2 separate regions of the Homo sapiens genome follow, and region 2 is linked to region 1. The links are contacts of gene promoters, found by promoter capture Hi-C in human tissues and cell types (Jung and others, 2019). All regions are on one chromosome and are shown on one strand. The core of a region is centred on a gene start or on the middle of the fragment in contact, and the rest is flanking DNA. Distances in the headings are between cores, read along the strand shown. Region 1 holds the start of IGFBP5 (insulin like growth factor binding protein 5). Region 2 overlaps IGFBP-AS1 (IGFBP5 antisense RNA 1).

Region 1 (7,959 bases), core at 3,233-5,732:
CTTGCTCAACCCAGACATAAATTTGGCCAATAAACCTAACTCTGGAACTCGACTTCAACATGGCATTTTAGACCAGGCTTGGAGTTGAAGCCAGGGTGATGGAGGCCAAACCCCTCAAAGAAGCAAAGGCTGAATTCACTTTTATTTAGGTAATGCTTTTGCTTTCTTTTCCAGAAGCCTATTTTTTGTCCCACGGTGTCTCATTTCTTAATGACAGAACCGAAAGCCAGAACCCACGGCTCCCTACATCTTAAACTGAATGTCTCACCAGCACAGAGGAGACCTACCCGAACCCCGGTATCTATGCTGGGGACCAGCCCATCAAACCTCATTCCCCACCAAAAATGCCCGAAAGCAAACCCAGTACTTCCTTGACTCCCTCCACTCACCGCTATTTACTGAGCTTTGCCCATCAAATAACTCCCGTCTTTCATCTCCCTCCAGCCTCACACACATTCTTTTTTCCGTATCTATCTCTGCTCCTGAACTGGCCAGAATGAAATGCAGAGCCAGGCTCGCTCTCAGCACCCTGCTCTCGGGCCCACTCCCTCTCCAGTTGCTCAGCAACAGCCTAGCAAAACACCCTCTCCTCCGCCCTCTCCTTTCCCTCCCAGAGGCTTTGGCTGCCTGCCACCTCACTCTCTTCTGCTCCCCATTTCTGATTCCAGAAATGCACCTTTTTTGGGTTCTACATGTTTGGTTACATATAAATATATATAATATAGTATATACCATATATACAATATATAATTATATAGATATAATATGTCGTGTGTGTGTGTGTGTGTGTGTGTGTGTGTGTGTGTGTGTGTATGCTGCAACTGCGGGAGGGAGGGGGCAAATCCATATCTGCAAGCTCAGATTTTGGCGGGGGTGGGGGAGAGGAGGGAGGTAGGAGGTGTGTTGGGAAGCAGGAATTTTGGCTAAAGGACCAAAAGGGCACTCTCCCTCTCTCTGTCCATTTCTCTCTCCTTAAGAACGGTCTCTACACCATCTCCAACTTTTTGGGGACCCGCCCAGTGGTTGTCCGGCTAAAACGCCCTTTCCAGGAGCGCCCACTCCCATCCCATCTGTTCGGGAAGAAGATGTCGGCACCAGCAGCGGTGGAGCGCCGCCAACCCGCAACAGCAGCCGGCCGGGCACCTGCCTTCGGCGGGGTGGAGTCGGAGAGGAGTGCTGGGGAGGGGGCGGGTAGAAGAGGCGGCTTCGGGTTGGCCCAAAGGCACTCAGAAGGTGGGGGTTGAGCAAGGGGCGGCAGGGAATTCTACAGGGGATCTTGCTTGGGACTGAAGTGTCGTGTGTGTGTGTGTGTGTGTGTGTGTGTGTGTGTGTGTGTGATGCGCCCTCCGTGCTCGCCTAGCAATTGCGCGCGCGTGCGCTCTGCGTGTACACCCTTCACACTAGCCACATCACACTACACGCTTGGTAAATAATAAGTGGAGCCAGGATGCGGCTGAGTGACACCTTACGTTCTTTCGGTGTGACTGGATTGTTACCCAGGGCGGTGGCTCCCAAGCCGGGAAATCAATTAATGTTTTCCTTCTCCGCTAGGCTTTTCCAAATCCACATCCCCCAAGATGAAGGCGGGCAGGACCGCCTTTGAAAAGTGGATCTTAATAAAAATAATCTCACAAGCCGGTCTCTGGGGTTCCCAGAGCCTGCACATCCTCCCCTTTTCCTCTTTTTGCAGGCTGCAACCTGCAAAAAGATCGACTTTTTGCAGGTTTGGAGATCGACTACCTCTTGCAAAGCTAGAGGGGCTGGCCCCTGCGCCACTCAAACCCTGCAGGGTTTGCGGGGACTGAGGCTGAACACAGGAAGCTCTCCGGCCTCCTGGCAAGCGCGGACGCACTCCTCTCCTGCACTATAGTGACTGAAATTTGCACTTCAGAAAACTCATGTTAGGGTGCTCGTGAGTAACGGAAAGGGACAGGGAGGGAGAAGGGGATTGCCCCCGTAACTAAACTGTCTCCGTAACTAAACTACGCCAAATAAACATTGTTTAGCCAAGTTTTAACCCCTTTTGGAGAGAATCAATAGCCAGTTTGACGTCTTAGAACCCAGACTTTTATGTAGTTTATTTAACTTTTTTTTTTTTTAACTAAAGATCAGGTAACTCTTTCCAAAAAGAAACTCAGTCTAAGGGGGTAGAACTGTTCTGATTGAACAAGTAGCTGTGTCAATCATTTCAACCCTAGACTCCTGGCGCCGAGAATTTGGGGGCGGCGCAACCCGGGGGCGGGGCAAGCGGAGGCGAGGCTCCCAGTGCGTGGCTTTTCTGTCTCCGCCCCCTGAATTTTGCATTCTGCGTTTCCAGGGCCCCTCATGCACTTAATCCACACCCACTTGTGATCTGGTTTAAGAGATTGGGGAGGGCGGGGTGGGGGGATTGCGGAGGGAGGAATTGCGGGGCGGGGGTGGAGGTGGTGGTGGTGCCAGGAATCTGCATAGGCGAGGAAGTTGAAAGCTCTGAATCTCACATCCCCTTTTGCCTCCCAGCCCTATGTCCACCTTTCATCCTAGGTAAAATCTGAATTGGAGAGGGGGAAAAGGAATTAGATTCAGAAACGAACACCAGGCACAGAATACCAAACCCTTCCTTTCTACTCTTCCCCACCCCCACCCCGCACCCCCGCACTCCTAAAGTATTTTTTTCCCTTCCTGGGATAAAATAAAAGTCATTTTGCAGTTAAATATGTTTTACCATCTACCACAGGCAATCATCTTCAATAAAAAGCAATGGTTATGCACATGGGAGGGGCTTCAGGGCTCCCACCCGAAAGGCATTAGCTACCAAGGATGTGGGGTGTTTGTGGTGTGTGTGTAGGGGTGGAGGGATAGAAACGTCTGGAGGCACGGGGGTGGAGGGGCCAAGAGGGACAAAGGTGGAATTAGCTCAGAAGATAGGTAATGCCTCTCTCTCCAGGCCGCAATTAAAATAATATTTTAACAAAAGAGATTTTTTTTCCAAGTTCAGAAAAAAACCTATGCGGGGCGCGAGGGGGGTGGAGGAGGGAGTTGATAATGTAACATACACTCTTTCAGACTGTAGATAGGGTACCAGGGGATTTGGACCTTGTGACCGAATAAGAGCTCAGAATCAGTATTCGGACAGAGTAGGGGGAGGGGGCGGGCAACGTGTGGGTAGGAGGAAGGAGAAAGAGCGAAAGCTGGGATAGACTCGGCTAGACAGTTCCCCCGGGTAGCAGGATCCTCCAGGGCTCCAATTCCGGGGTGCAAGGACCCTCCCCGACTACTCCCGAGCTGCACCCCAGCTCGAAGCCACTTGCTGCGCAAAGCGCGCGGGCCCAGCCGGTCTCGTGTCCCCCGCCCGTGCGCCGCGTAACTGACTGGCACACTGAGCGCGCTCACCGATCTTGACTTGCTCGCGGTAGCTCTTTTCGTTGAGGCAAACCCCGCGGCCGTGCAGCAGGGCGTGCAGCGGCTTCTCCTCGTCCTGCCGGGGGAGGCAGCGCAGCCCCTGGGCGCAGCGCTCGGTGTAGACGCCGCACGACTGCCCCTCGGCCAGGGCGCAGGTCATGCAGCAGCCGCAGCCCGGCTCCTTGACCAGCTCGCAGCCCAGGGGGCTGGGGGGGCACATGGAGAGGGCTTTCTCGTCGCAGGGCTCGCAGTGCACGAAGGAGCCCAGGCTCTGGGCCGGCCCCGCATAGGCGGCCAGCAGCAGGAGGACCGCGGTGAGCAACACCATCTTCTCTTAGTCGCCCCCTTTACCTCGGGGTGGGGCAGGAGAGCGAGAGTGCAGGGATAAAGGGGCCAAGAGGGCCCCCGGAGATTTTTTTGTTTTTGTTTTTGTTTTAAAATTTCTGGCAGGTAGAGCAGGTGCCCTCCCCCAGACACTTGCAAAAATGTAGAGAGAGGTGGAGGGCTGGGGTGCCTGCGAGCAGGTCCCAGTTGCAAGAATTAAAGCCTTGCAACAGGTTGGGGGAAGCAGGGCAGCGCCAGGTGCACGCAGTGAGCGGAGGCCGGAGAAACCCTCAAGCCTGAGCGGGTCAGAATTATAGGGGAAAAAAAGCCACAAAATTGTTCACCCCCAAGCAACCACCGAAATAATGAGATCGGATGCAGTGGAGATGGCGTTGGGGGTGGGAGAGAAAAATGGATTTATCTTTAAAATTTTTGCTTAAAATCTAAAATACACCCCGCTTTCTAACCCTCAGCTGCCAGCGGTGCGCGGCGCCGCAGAACAGGTAAGAGGCGTTGGCTGCAGCCGAGAGGGTGGGAGAAAATGTTGAAATCAAGAAATTAAAAAACAAAAACAAAAACAAAAAAACCCCAAACCCTAACACCTCTTTTCTCCCACTTTGCCACCTCCTCTTCGAAATTCGCAGGTTCTACGCGAAGTCCGGAGAAGGGTGAAAACGGAGGAGGGGTAATGAAAAGGAGCAAAAAAGGGAAAAAGCCCACACTGCTTTGCAGCTCTTTCCTAGCTCTTTTCCCCTGCAGAAGTTTCCAAAGAGACTACGGGGCTCCGGGAGAGCAGGCGCTTTTAAATAGCCGGCCCCTGGCTGCCAGCCAGTTTGTAGCTGCAATTTGAGCTTCCCAACACCCAACTCAGGCAAGGATGCCAAGGAGCTTTGCAGTACAAACTCACACGGGGTGGGGGTGGGGAGAGGCCTTCTAGACACAAGGGGGCTCCCCTTCGCTCCCTGAACAGCGCCCTCCTCCCCTCTGAACAGCGCCCTCCTCCCCCCGGAATGTAAGAAAGGGGCAAGGGGGACAGGCTGGGGCTACCGAGAATGGGGAGGAGGTGGAGGGGCCAGTGGAAGACAGAGTTCTTCGGAGCAGGGTGAACACAATGAGGAGAGTAACTTCGTCTCCCCTTCCCTCCTATCCTTTAAGTAGTCAAGGCACAGGCTGAAGGGAGACGTATTTTCTTATTAGCCAACTGGATATACCGTGCCCAAGAAATCTTCCTAAGCTTCTGCAATTGACTGTATGCTGGTGTCTGTTTCCATGTGGGGTGTGTGTGTGTGTGTGTTTGGGGGACAGGTAGTGTAGAATGGCCAGTGATGTCTGGTGAGCTAAATTTAAAAAAGAAGAAAAAATTGAATTTCTCCCCTAAAAGTCTGGAGAAGAGGATTTAATCAGGGGGTTTCAGTACTCATGATGAAGAGGTGACCAGTTGCCTTCAGCTGCGTTGGCCAGGGAGGTTCTCTCTCTCTTTCTCTCTCTCTGTGTGTGTGTGTGTATGTGTGTGTGTTGTGTATCTGCAGGAATGGACATTCATACAACAGCATTATTGAGAGCAGTGAGTTGCAGAGATGGACACTTTGGAGGAAATGCTAAGTCTGAAAACCTTGCATGGTGGCCTAAAGTGTCCTTGTGTGTGGGGTTCTTAGAGGGAAGAAAGGTGGATTGGAGTGACACTTCCCTCTCTGTCACTTTGCAGAGGTATTTCTATTGGGCAGGGCCACATCCCTGGAGGGAGTGGGTGGCAGAGTAGCTGGAGGAGACCTTGTGATAGGTTGACAGGTTAGTTGGTGCTTATAGGCACATCCCAGGAATATGAGCTGACAGGGCCACAGGACCTGCTTGGAAGAGGTCCTGACCAGGAACCGAATCATGCCACTAGAACCTCTTTAATAAAATGAAAGAAAACTAAGGCCTTGAAATAGGAAGGTGGTGGTTTTAGCTTTTTCTGAAATTGACCTGAGTGAGCCATGAGCCTCACAGGCAAGTCAGAGAGAAATGACCAATGTCACTGCCCCTGCTGGGTGGACTTGGTGTGGGCTGTTACACCTTTTACATTGTGCTTCCTCCCTTGAGAAGTATTCTAACTTTCCTTTGGAGAAGGGGCTGCATTTCATGAAGTTTGCCACTAGACTGCACCCTTATCTATGATAAGAATTCTTTCTGGAGGACTGCTTTCAAGAAAATATTTTTTCTTGCTCGTTCAGTTCAGGAGCATCTCACTTTATGCCGTTAACACCCCCAGATCCTGATCTCTCTTCTCACTTATCTATTTGCCGAAAGGCACATTTTAAAACAAGGTTAACGTCTAAAGTTATGTCTTTGCCTGTATTGCCAAAGGGGGTTTAGCCACGTGGTGGCTGGGAGAGGGAGGAGCATTGTGTGTAATGATTAAAACAAAAAATAGCAGCAAGGCTCATCTTAATTTCTTCTTTTCTCAGTCTGAGGGCTTGGTAAGGTAGGAACAAATCAATATTCAAAACTTTGGTGGAAATATTTTAGAAGTGAGGGAAATCATGTGTTATTTTGTCATTTGTGTCAAGTTCAGACTACAAGAGTGGCAGCAGAATGTGTGCAGTATGTTCTCTTCCCTGCTCCTATTTCTTTCTGCACACCCTTAGCAGCTCAGCCTGCCTCAGGCACACTGGTAGCTTTTAAGATGATTGGGGGAAATTGTGGTACTCCTTCCAAAGAAACATGAGTTGCCTCGTTCCAGTCACCCTGTATTCTGAGAGAGATGGCCTCTAGTGACACCTCTTTTTGTGTAGCCGACTTCCAATGGCTGGATAATACAATATGTGAAGACAGGTAAAAGGAGGGGGGATCATTCACAGAAAAGATAAAAAGGGTAGAGAGAAGGGGGGAGGAGAATGTGGTGGGAGCCGGACCCTGGGGCAGAGCAGTACAGGGGCCATGGAGAGAGGTTACTCTGCAAGACTGTAAATGTTAAGCAGCTATTCTTTTTTTTTTTTTTTAATACTTTAAGTTCTAGGGTACATGTGCACAATGTGCAGGTTTGTTACATATGTATACATGTGCTGTGTTGGTGTGCTAAGCAGCCATTCTTTATCTCCACTTAGAAATGGGCTTAGGTTATAAGGGATTCAGACACTGGAGCTGTTGTCCAAGAGACCCTGGGATAGGCTTCCCGAGAGGGCATGAGAGAAAGAAGAATTCTCAGTAGCCTGGGATTGTCTATAGTAATTTCATCCAAAGATGGAGGACTGGCCAGATGGGTGTTGTTTCTGAGTCCATAATTAACATATGACAATGGAGTGGGAAGGTGTTGGTGTTGTTACTGCAGGATACGGGATTATGGAGGATGCCTATGAGCCTTACTTGATTCCATTTTCCCCTTCCCTCCATTCTGGAGGTCTAGATCTGTTCACAATCACCTTTAGAAAATTGCTTGTAGAAAAAAAAAATAGTTTGCATCAACCAGGGTAATTGGGAGGGGATCATTAATTCCTGCCAGATACAAATGTTCCCTTCCTAGAGACCCCCCTGTGCTGCCGGCTTGCTTTCGCTGTCATGGGCTTCCCAACTCTGGCATAGACTAGCTTCTATACCTGTCAACTGCATCTTTTTCGGGGAAGTAGTATTTAAATATCAACCACTTGTGTCCCGTTTCCCCGGAGATCACTCCTCCTCTTTCCTTTAAAAGATTAACTGCTTATCAAAGCCAGCTTTCAAGAAATGCAGCGGAGTGAAAGATTTATGATCTTTTATCTGGATAACTTTTCAAAGGATAGATAGTGTTTTTATTTTATAAAGCTTCGGATGCCTTGCCTGTGGTCATTTCCTGTGAGTTTCTAAGTGATTTTCAAGGATGATGCCTGATAACACAGTTTGGGAAAGCTAGACTTTTTAGTAGGACACAAAGTATTGTGGATTCTACTGGTTAGAATGGAAAAATGTTAGCTAAGGATCTTGTCTTCATTCTCTTTTCTGTGTCACTCTCACCACTCTCAGACAGGCTTATTTATATAATTTATTCAATTTTTAAAGACCTCATGACATTGACTTCAGTCTCTCCCAGAGGCCAACACACATCAAGAATACTAATGCTGCGGCCATGTTGTCCTGGTCCCAAACTAAGGTACAGTGATGTTCAATAAAGAAAGTGCCCCCTTGTTCAGGTCCTTCCCTAGCTCTGGGAGGTTCAGCAAGACTGAAGTCTGTGTTAAAGAGCAGCATGAGGCAACTTTGTTGTAGTGATATTGCTGAAGGCTAGGTGGCAGGATAGAT
Region 2 (7,959 bases), core at 3,472-5,971, 49 kb after region 1:
TCCAATAAATATTTATTAAGTAAATAAATGAATGAATAAAAGAATAGGGTGAGGGGCTTTTTGACATTAAATATGAGGTAAGTTCATTTGAGCCTATGTTTGTTGAACAAATACTAATAATGCTTGATGTGTGCCAGGCACTGTCCTAAGTGCTTCGCAAATATTAACTCATTTAATTCTCATAGTTTGTCTATGAGATATGTACTATTGTTTATCCCATTTAAAAACTGACATACAGAGGAGTCATGTTACTCGCCCAAAGTTACACAGATACGTGGTAGAGTTAGGAGTCTACTGGCCTGGGTTGCCTCCAATATCTTCTGTTGTTACAGGACTTACCTATTACTGGTTCGGCACATGTGGAGGGGCCTGAGTGCCTGCGTGTGATATTATGAAAGTAAATGGGTGCAACAATGTAGGTACGGTTTGCTAGTGTTGATACATTGCAATCCACCCGTCCTTATTCCCCCTTTATACTGCCTCCCAGTTTCTTCCAGTCTCCCGCAGGCTATGCCTGCTCATGTGTCTTTCCCCTTGTCCATTTCCCATTCCTGTGCTGGACTGGGTTTCAGTGCTATTTTTGCAGCCAAGCAGGTGAGGTGGGCCTCTCTGGTGCCCTGCTGAGCCGCCAGGAGGCTGCGCCTGCAGAATGAATCCCAATGCAGGGGTGGGGTTGCAAGCAGCATCCACAGTCCTCTTGTTTCAGTTCAGAATTGGAGACGTCTGACTGCCCTGGCTGCTGTGGCTTCTCAGAGCTCTGTGGTTTCTTCTGGAAACACTGGGGAGACCATAACAGCAGCACCGAGCATCCCATCCCCACAGCCCACCAGGTCCAGTGGCTAACCTTCTTCTAGGCCACTTTATTTTGGGTCATGGTGCTGTCAAGGCTCTTCCGGTCCAGGAGAGCATGGTCTTTGCAAATGCTCTGCAGAGCTGGCCCTTCTCGCAGGAGTGGTGTGGATTATTTGCAAAAACAACAGAGACTCTGCTAGCATTCCCACAGATAACACAGGGCTGCAGAGGAAAACGTCCTCTTTGCCAGCACAGGCAACAGGGTGGGGGACGTAGGGGCAGAGAGGAAGGGTGTGCTGTTTCTTCAGAGTTCACCCCATCCATTCCCCACATCCAAATAGTTCAGCTTAAATAGTTCCCAAGCTTAAATGAACCTCTTGCGGTACCCTTCCTTTGCGAAAGCACCTGGCAGTGGGGCAGTCCTTCTGATATTTAACAGCTGGCCCTCCTGCTTCAGGACTACCCTTTGTGTTTTTCATGGATGTTCAGCACAATGTGCTTCAGATACAGAGGAAAAGCCAACCATACATGGATCTGCTGCCCCTGACAAAGGATTCCCACACTGGGAAGGGGTGCAGGCTTCCTGTGTACAGGTTTGGAAGAGCCCCTGTGACTTGATATCAGGCCCACTAGACTCAGGGCCCTTTGGCTCCTGATCTTCCCCTCTTTGAGTCACAAAACTACATACCCTGCTCAGTCCCTTTAAAGCGTACTTTTTCCCTTGGATTTTTTTTTTTTCTCTCTTTGGTGTTTATGTGAACTGGTTGAACCCATCACGTGGTGAGTCCATGTTTATAATTGCAGAAGCACTGCCTGGGGAAGTTTTGTTTGTATAGAGGTCATCTCATCTCTTGGGCTTGGCTGCAGCCCCAGCTGGGGTTTCGGCAGCAGTAGCTGAAAACACACCAGGGACTTCTTATTTCTCTCTCTGCCCTGGGTTCCAGGCTCCTGGTCCCAAAGGCTGGTGCTTCCTAGGGCAGGAAGAAGGGGCACACTCAGGAAAGAGCAGGATCATCTTCCTTCCACCCCATGCTCAACCCAACCTAGAGTTTTTCCAGGATATGACTGTCTCCTTTCTTACAACCCGACTGCTTTCCATGGTCTGAAAGCTAGACTTAGATTGGTAGAGTAGATGGTAGGATTTAGGGATGTGCTGTTCTGTTGCTACTCTCCCTTTTACAGTCAATATTCTAGGATGGCTGAGACCATGAGCTTTGGAGTCGGACAGAATTGGGTTGAAATCATGTCTTTGCCAACTACTAGCTGTGTGACCTTGGACAATACCTCTAAAACTCAGTTTCAACATCTTAAATGAGAATAATAGTATCTACACCTTCAGATGGTCAGCAGGATTAACTTAGGGCATGGGTATGAAATGTTTCTAATTATGATAATAACGATGGTGGTAATCAATAATAACACTAACTATGATAGCACTAAAAATGACAACTTCCCTCTATCCCTGTTTCCCTCCTCTATTAGAGCAGTGTTTCTCAACTTTTTAAAATTATCACTCCCCTAAGGAGTCTTTTAAGTCATTGATTCCCTTATCATTTCCCCTTCTCCCCTATATACTCTATATCTGTTAATATAGTGTGACCTTTTAGAGACTATGAATCATCACGATAGCTAAGATTTTTTTTTTATCCCCCAAGATCCAATTTCCCAACAATATGGCCCCTCTTGAGACGCATGTACTTGGAGGAGCTCTGCTATCTGGGGATCATGCAGGTTATTATCAAAGTCTTTTGGTTAGATGGAGTTAACAAGTAAACCCCAGAGTAGCCCTTTGGTGGGGATGACTGTCTATAAAAGAGAGCCCCAAGGAAACCAAATGCTTGTCATACAGTAATGGATACCCATTGACCATAAGGGTGGGGCCAGAGCTTTTTCCCATTGTGGTACACGCTGCACCCTTTTCACTCCCGCTCCCATTTAACATTTGTCTTTGGGACAGCTACCACTGATAGGAGAATGAGAGGATCCACATTGACTCTTGCTTATGGGACTGGAGGCCATTCTTCTACTGGTACTTTTGAGACTGAGAGAGGCCAACACACCAATGCTCAACATAGCTGCACGGATAGGTCTACATGAGTCAGTAAAACATAGGAATGATTTAGGGAACACAGACCTTTTTGTGTGGAAAGGAGAAGAGGATTCCTGAAGGAGAGTGGTATTTAGGACCCAGAGACTTAAAGAAGCAGGAACTTCAGGGCGTGTGAATGATCTGAGTGCAAGTGGGTCAACTTAGGAGTGACGCAAGACTGCCTTGATAGCTATGGGTAGGTCAAGCCCCACACAGGGCCAGGGGAGCCTTCACACAGACTGTTATGTGAATGGCGCTTCCCTGAGTTGTGCAATATGGCAGCCCTGCACAGATGATGTGTTCCTTGAGAAAGCCTAGGCCTTAGATGCCTTCCCTTGGGAGCTGAGAGAGAGAGTTTTTATTCACAGTTCACCAGAAGTTTGTCCAGACTAAATGATCATTCTTTTCAGTTTTCCCTAATTCTTTTTTTTGTTTGTTTGTGTTTTGAGACGGAGTTTTGCTCTTGTTGCCCAAGCTGGAGTGCAATGGTGCGATCTTGGCTCACTGCAATCTCTGCCTCCCAGATTCAAGTGATTCTACTGCCTCAGCCTCCCAAGTAGCTGGGATTACAGGCGTGCACCACCTCTCCCGACTAATTTTTTGTATTTTTAGTAAAAATGGAGTTTCACCATGTTAGCCAGGCTGGTCTCGAACTCCTGAGCTCAGATAATCTGCCCGTCTTGGCCTCCCAAAGTGCTGGGATTACAGGCGTGAGCCACGGTGTCTGGCCAGTTTTTCCTAATTCTTCAACAAGGAAATTTGCATATAACTGCAACTTGGTGTGTGAGTCTTGTGATGGCCAAGGAAAAGGAGGGGGAGGTGTTGTCTCATCTCCACTTCTCCTGAGTTCAAGTAGAGAAGGGATAATGACCTCTTGGAAGGAATACGGTTCCAAATACCTGGGGTGACCAGAGGGGAGCCCCCGGGTGAAACCTGTGGCAGAGTACCCTGAAAGGACATATGCAAGCAATAGCATTTGATCACGCCCTGCAAATACCTACTGAGGCCACACTCTCCTGAGGTGGGATGCAGAGTCTGGGAGAAACTCCATAGTTTCATTCCTTTTTGCTGAGGGCTTGCAATATGCCAGGCAGGCTATTAAAGGTTTAGATTTACATTCGTGGCCTTCAACAAAAGGTGATGATGATCCCTATTATTGAGCGTCTAGATTAAAAAAATTTTTCCAGGCTGGGTTGGCAATGTTATGTCCTGGTCCCTTCTAGTTCTGACATCCTATGTAATCTGCCTGATAGAATTTTCAGAGGTGCTCATTAGATTCTTCTTGGCAGAAAACTTTGCTCCTGAAGAAGAGAAACTCAATGTTAGAGAGAGGAAAAGGCAAAGAAAAGGAGGGTTGGGGCACAGAACACAAATGTTTACATTTTATAGCTCTGCCTAAAGCAGAATCTTTCTTAGCTTTTCTTCCAGTAACACTGTAAGCTTTTCAACTTTTCCACTCTGAATGTTTTGAGGTCTTTGCTCCTTCTCTATTTCTCAGCCATTCACCCTTCCTCTAAGACTTTCCCTAGAGTCCTCTGTGGTTGACTCCCTGCCCTGTGCATGCTTCTCTCCCTATTGCATGACCTCAGGCTGTACAATAGCATCAAGCATAGCCTTGATGAGAAATAATCCACACTCAAGGCGGGATGTTTGTGGGAGAGGGGAATGTCCCAGTGAGGCTTAGCAGGGGCTTACATGTGGAGTGAATATGAACATGGAACAATGCAAAGAACCCTGGATCTGGATTCAGAATCCTGTGGCCACAGCTCTGGCTCTGGCCCTGACTTGCCATGTTACTTCTGGCAGGCCATCTGGGTGAACTGAACCTGGGTGTCTTCACTTGCAAAATGGGGTTTTCAAGATGACATTTTAGCTCCCTTTTCCAATTGTTGATATGTTATAGCTTTTAAAGAATTAATTGTAAGAATCATCAACTCCTTCTCCCCCTAGCATCCATGTCTCACTTCGTAATCTCATCTCCACTTAGGACTTGGAATCATGTATCTTTCCAAATTGGGGCCTTAGTTGTCCTGTGAGCTAGAGATGACATTGGTTTTCCACTTTAATTTTGTCCAGAGACTTCGTTATAATGATTCTATCCTTCTTCACCCCTTCCCCATCACCTGTTCATTCCTAGTTAGGAAGATACTCCTCTATGGACAGTTGGGTGGGGAGCCTGAGAACTCAGATGCTGGAAGCTGAAGCAGCTAGGAAGGGCTCTCCAAAGAAGGTACAGGAAGGGCACCAGTTAGTAATGGCATCGGTTGATTCCTCAAATATAATTGCCATGAAAAAGTTTTCCATTTTCCTCCCAGCACTTCAGGCAAATGACCTCAAAGAGGAGAACCTCTTTTCCTTCCAATTATGACCACTAACTTTTGCCTTTCTGGTCCACTCACATCTTTATTCTTTCCTAACTTCTGTGGGCCATGACAAGACTGTGTCAAAGTGATTGGTGGGTTGCTCCTTGAAGACCCCATAGAGCTGGGTCTTTAGTCTTTTTAGACTCAGCTGAGTGCAGCTGATGTCTCTATGGGAGCTAGAGAGTGAGGAAGGGTGGATTCCTCTCCCTCTTGGTCTGAATGACTTCTTCCCTGCCCCATGGACCAGAGGAGGGGAGTTGAGTGGCAGGATGTGTTAACTCTCCACACTCAGGTTGGAAGCTTCTCTGCTCCACATAGACTTCTGCTCACACAAGGGTCTTTACTTCTCCAAAGGTCATTCCCTCAATAACGCAATACCTGCCCATCTAAGAACCACCTTTTCCTTGTTTAGCCAACATACTTCTGCTTTAGAGATTGTATTAAAGACCCATCCTGGCATTGCTTTTTAGAAAATAGGAAGGTAGACACTAAGTACTATCAGAAACAGGATCACAGGATCTACCAGTACTTGTTAAAAGTTCCATTTTACTATGAACCCCCAATTCATTGTAAAGGAATATTTTTTAGGATCTCCTCAATGCCACTAATGAGCATGCCCAGCCTGGAGAAAGTGAAGAAGAAGGCTGTTTATGTTTAACTTGGGAGGCTGCTGTGGTTCTAGAAAATGGGAATGTGTGTCAATTTGCTTTATAGAGGAAAGCAGAAATTGAAGAAAGTGATCCATTAAGAATTATCAAATACTAAACCCTTTTGGTAAGAGGAACCATATTTGGTGCATCTCTTGGCATCTAGGAAGAACTGACCACAATTCACCCCGGACAGAAAGATCTAAGGAACTCCTAATCCATGTTAGGGTACAATTATCTTTATAGTCAGCAAAATTTTCCTTCAGTTTTCATTGCTTTTCTCTTATTTCATTTGGATCATAAAGCAACCGAAAAGATTGTGCTTCCCATAGTGTATTTAGAAGTAGCCTTGGATGAGCTTCAATATGGTGACTTTGGTCTTTCCTTCTCTGCTGTGAATCATGTTGGACACCTTCAACAATCAATCCTCCGAGGATTTTGGGATCATGGTAGATGGGAGGCAGGACTAGATTGCAGCTCTGGACAGAGCACCACGTGGAGGCTTGTATTGTGAATTTTAGCTTCAGATTGACTGCAAGAACAAACCAGCAGTCCTGAGAGGACCCACAGACCCTCTGAAGGAAGCAGACTGCTCCCACAGGACCCAGGAGACACCCCAAATACTCTGGGAGGTGGAAAGCCTCGGGCAAGTTTTCAAGCCCAATCTCGCCCTCTGCCTGGAAACAGACTCAGGGCTATTGTGGGGGGCACGGTGAGAGTGAGACCAGCCCTTTGGTTTGCGTGGGAGCTGGGTGAGGCCTGTGACTGCTGGCTTTCCCCCACTTCCCTGACAACCTGCATGACTCAGCAGAGGCAGCCATAATCCTCCTAGGTACACAACTCCAGTGACCTGGGAATTTCACCCCCATGTCCCATAGCAGCCACAGCAAGACCTACCCAAGGAGAGTCTGTGCTCAGACACGCCTGGCCCTGCCCCCACCTGATGGTCCTTCCCTACCCACCCTGGTAGTGGAAGACAAAGCGCATACAATATTGGGAGTTCTAGGGCCCCATCTGCCGCTGTTCCCTCTCCACACTACTACAGCTGATGCTTTCTGGAAAGCGCCACCTCCTGGCAGGAGGCCAACTAGCACAAAAATACAGCATTAAACCACCAAAGCTAAGGACCCTCACGGAGTCTATTGCACCCTCCTGCCACCTCCACTGGAACAGGTGCTGGTATCTACACAGCTGAGAGACCCATAGATGGTTCACATCACAGGGCTCTGTGCAGACAACCCCCAGTACCAGCCCAGAGTCAGGTAGATTTGCTGGGTGGCTAGACTCTGGAGAGAGACAATCACGGCAGTTTGGCTCACAGGAAGCCACATCCACAGGGAAAGGGGGAGAGTACTACATAAAGGGAACATGCTGTGAGACAAAAAAATCTGAACAGTAGCCTTTATCTCTAGATGTTCCTTCTGACAGGACCTACCTAAATGTGAAGGAACCAGAAAACCAACCCTGGTAATATGACAAAACAAGGCTCGTCAACACCCCCCCAAAATCACACTAGTTCACCAGCAATGGTTCCAAACCAATAAGAAACCCTTGATTTACCTGAAAAAGAATTTAGGAGGTTAGTCATTAAGCCAATCAGGGAGGGACCAGAGAAAGGCAAAGCCCAATGCAAGGAAATCCAATGCAAGGAAATCCAAAAAATGATAGAAGAAGTGAAGGGAGAAATATTCAAAGAAATAGATATAGCTTAAAGAAAAAACAACAAAAAATCCAGGTAACTTTGGACACACTTTCAGAAATGTGAAATGCTCTGGAAAGTCTCAGCAATACAGTTGAACAAGTAGAAGAAAGAAATTCAGAGCTCAAAGATAAGGTCTCAAATTAACCCAATCCAACAAAGACAAAGGAAAAAGAATAAGAAAATACAAACAAAACCTCCAAGAAGTCTGGGATTATGTTAAACGAGCAACTCTAAGAATTATCGGTGTTCCTGAGGAAGAAGACAATTCTAAAAGCTTGGTAAACATATCTGGGGGAATAATAGAGGAAAACTTCCCCAGCCTTGCCAGAGACCTAGACGTGCAAATACAAGAAGCACAAAGAACAC

Evidence for each region. The method cuts DNA at HindIII sites, captures the fragments that hold promoters and counts their contacts. A contact is called where the count stands out against the background at its distance.
Region 2: a fragment that was not itself captured here is called in contact with the fragment with the promoter of IGFBP5 in region 1 in 1 of the 25 tissues and cell types used here (ovary).

Annotation. Positions count from the first base shown.
Region 1 is chr2:216,691,067-216,699,025 of GRCh38, forward strand. It overlaps IGFBP5 (insulin like growth factor binding protein 5), which reads right to left and starts at 4,483. Exons shown (of 4, transcript NM_000599.4): 1 at 3,373-4,483. The coding sequence starts at 3,709. It overlaps IGFBP-AS1 (IGFBP5 antisense RNA 1), which reads left to right and starts at 3,380. Exons shown (of 6, transcript NR_187138.1): 1 at 3,380-3,695. It overlaps LOC124900515 (a long non-coding RNA gene), which reads right to left and starts at 498. Exons shown (of 2, transcript XR_007088080.1): 1 at 390-498. RefSeq lists a silencer at 7,860-7,939. The HindIII fragment of the contact is 12,405 bases long and covers 1-6,212 here.
Region 2 is chr2:216,739,511-216,747,469 of GRCh38, forward strand. The region is part of intron 2 of IGFBP-AS1 (IGFBP5 antisense RNA 1); the gene reads left to right. Among named protein-coding and RNA genes, the nearest start is that of IGFBP5, 48 kb to the left of the region's middle. The HindIII fragment of the contact is 3,967 bases long and covers 2,739-6,705 here.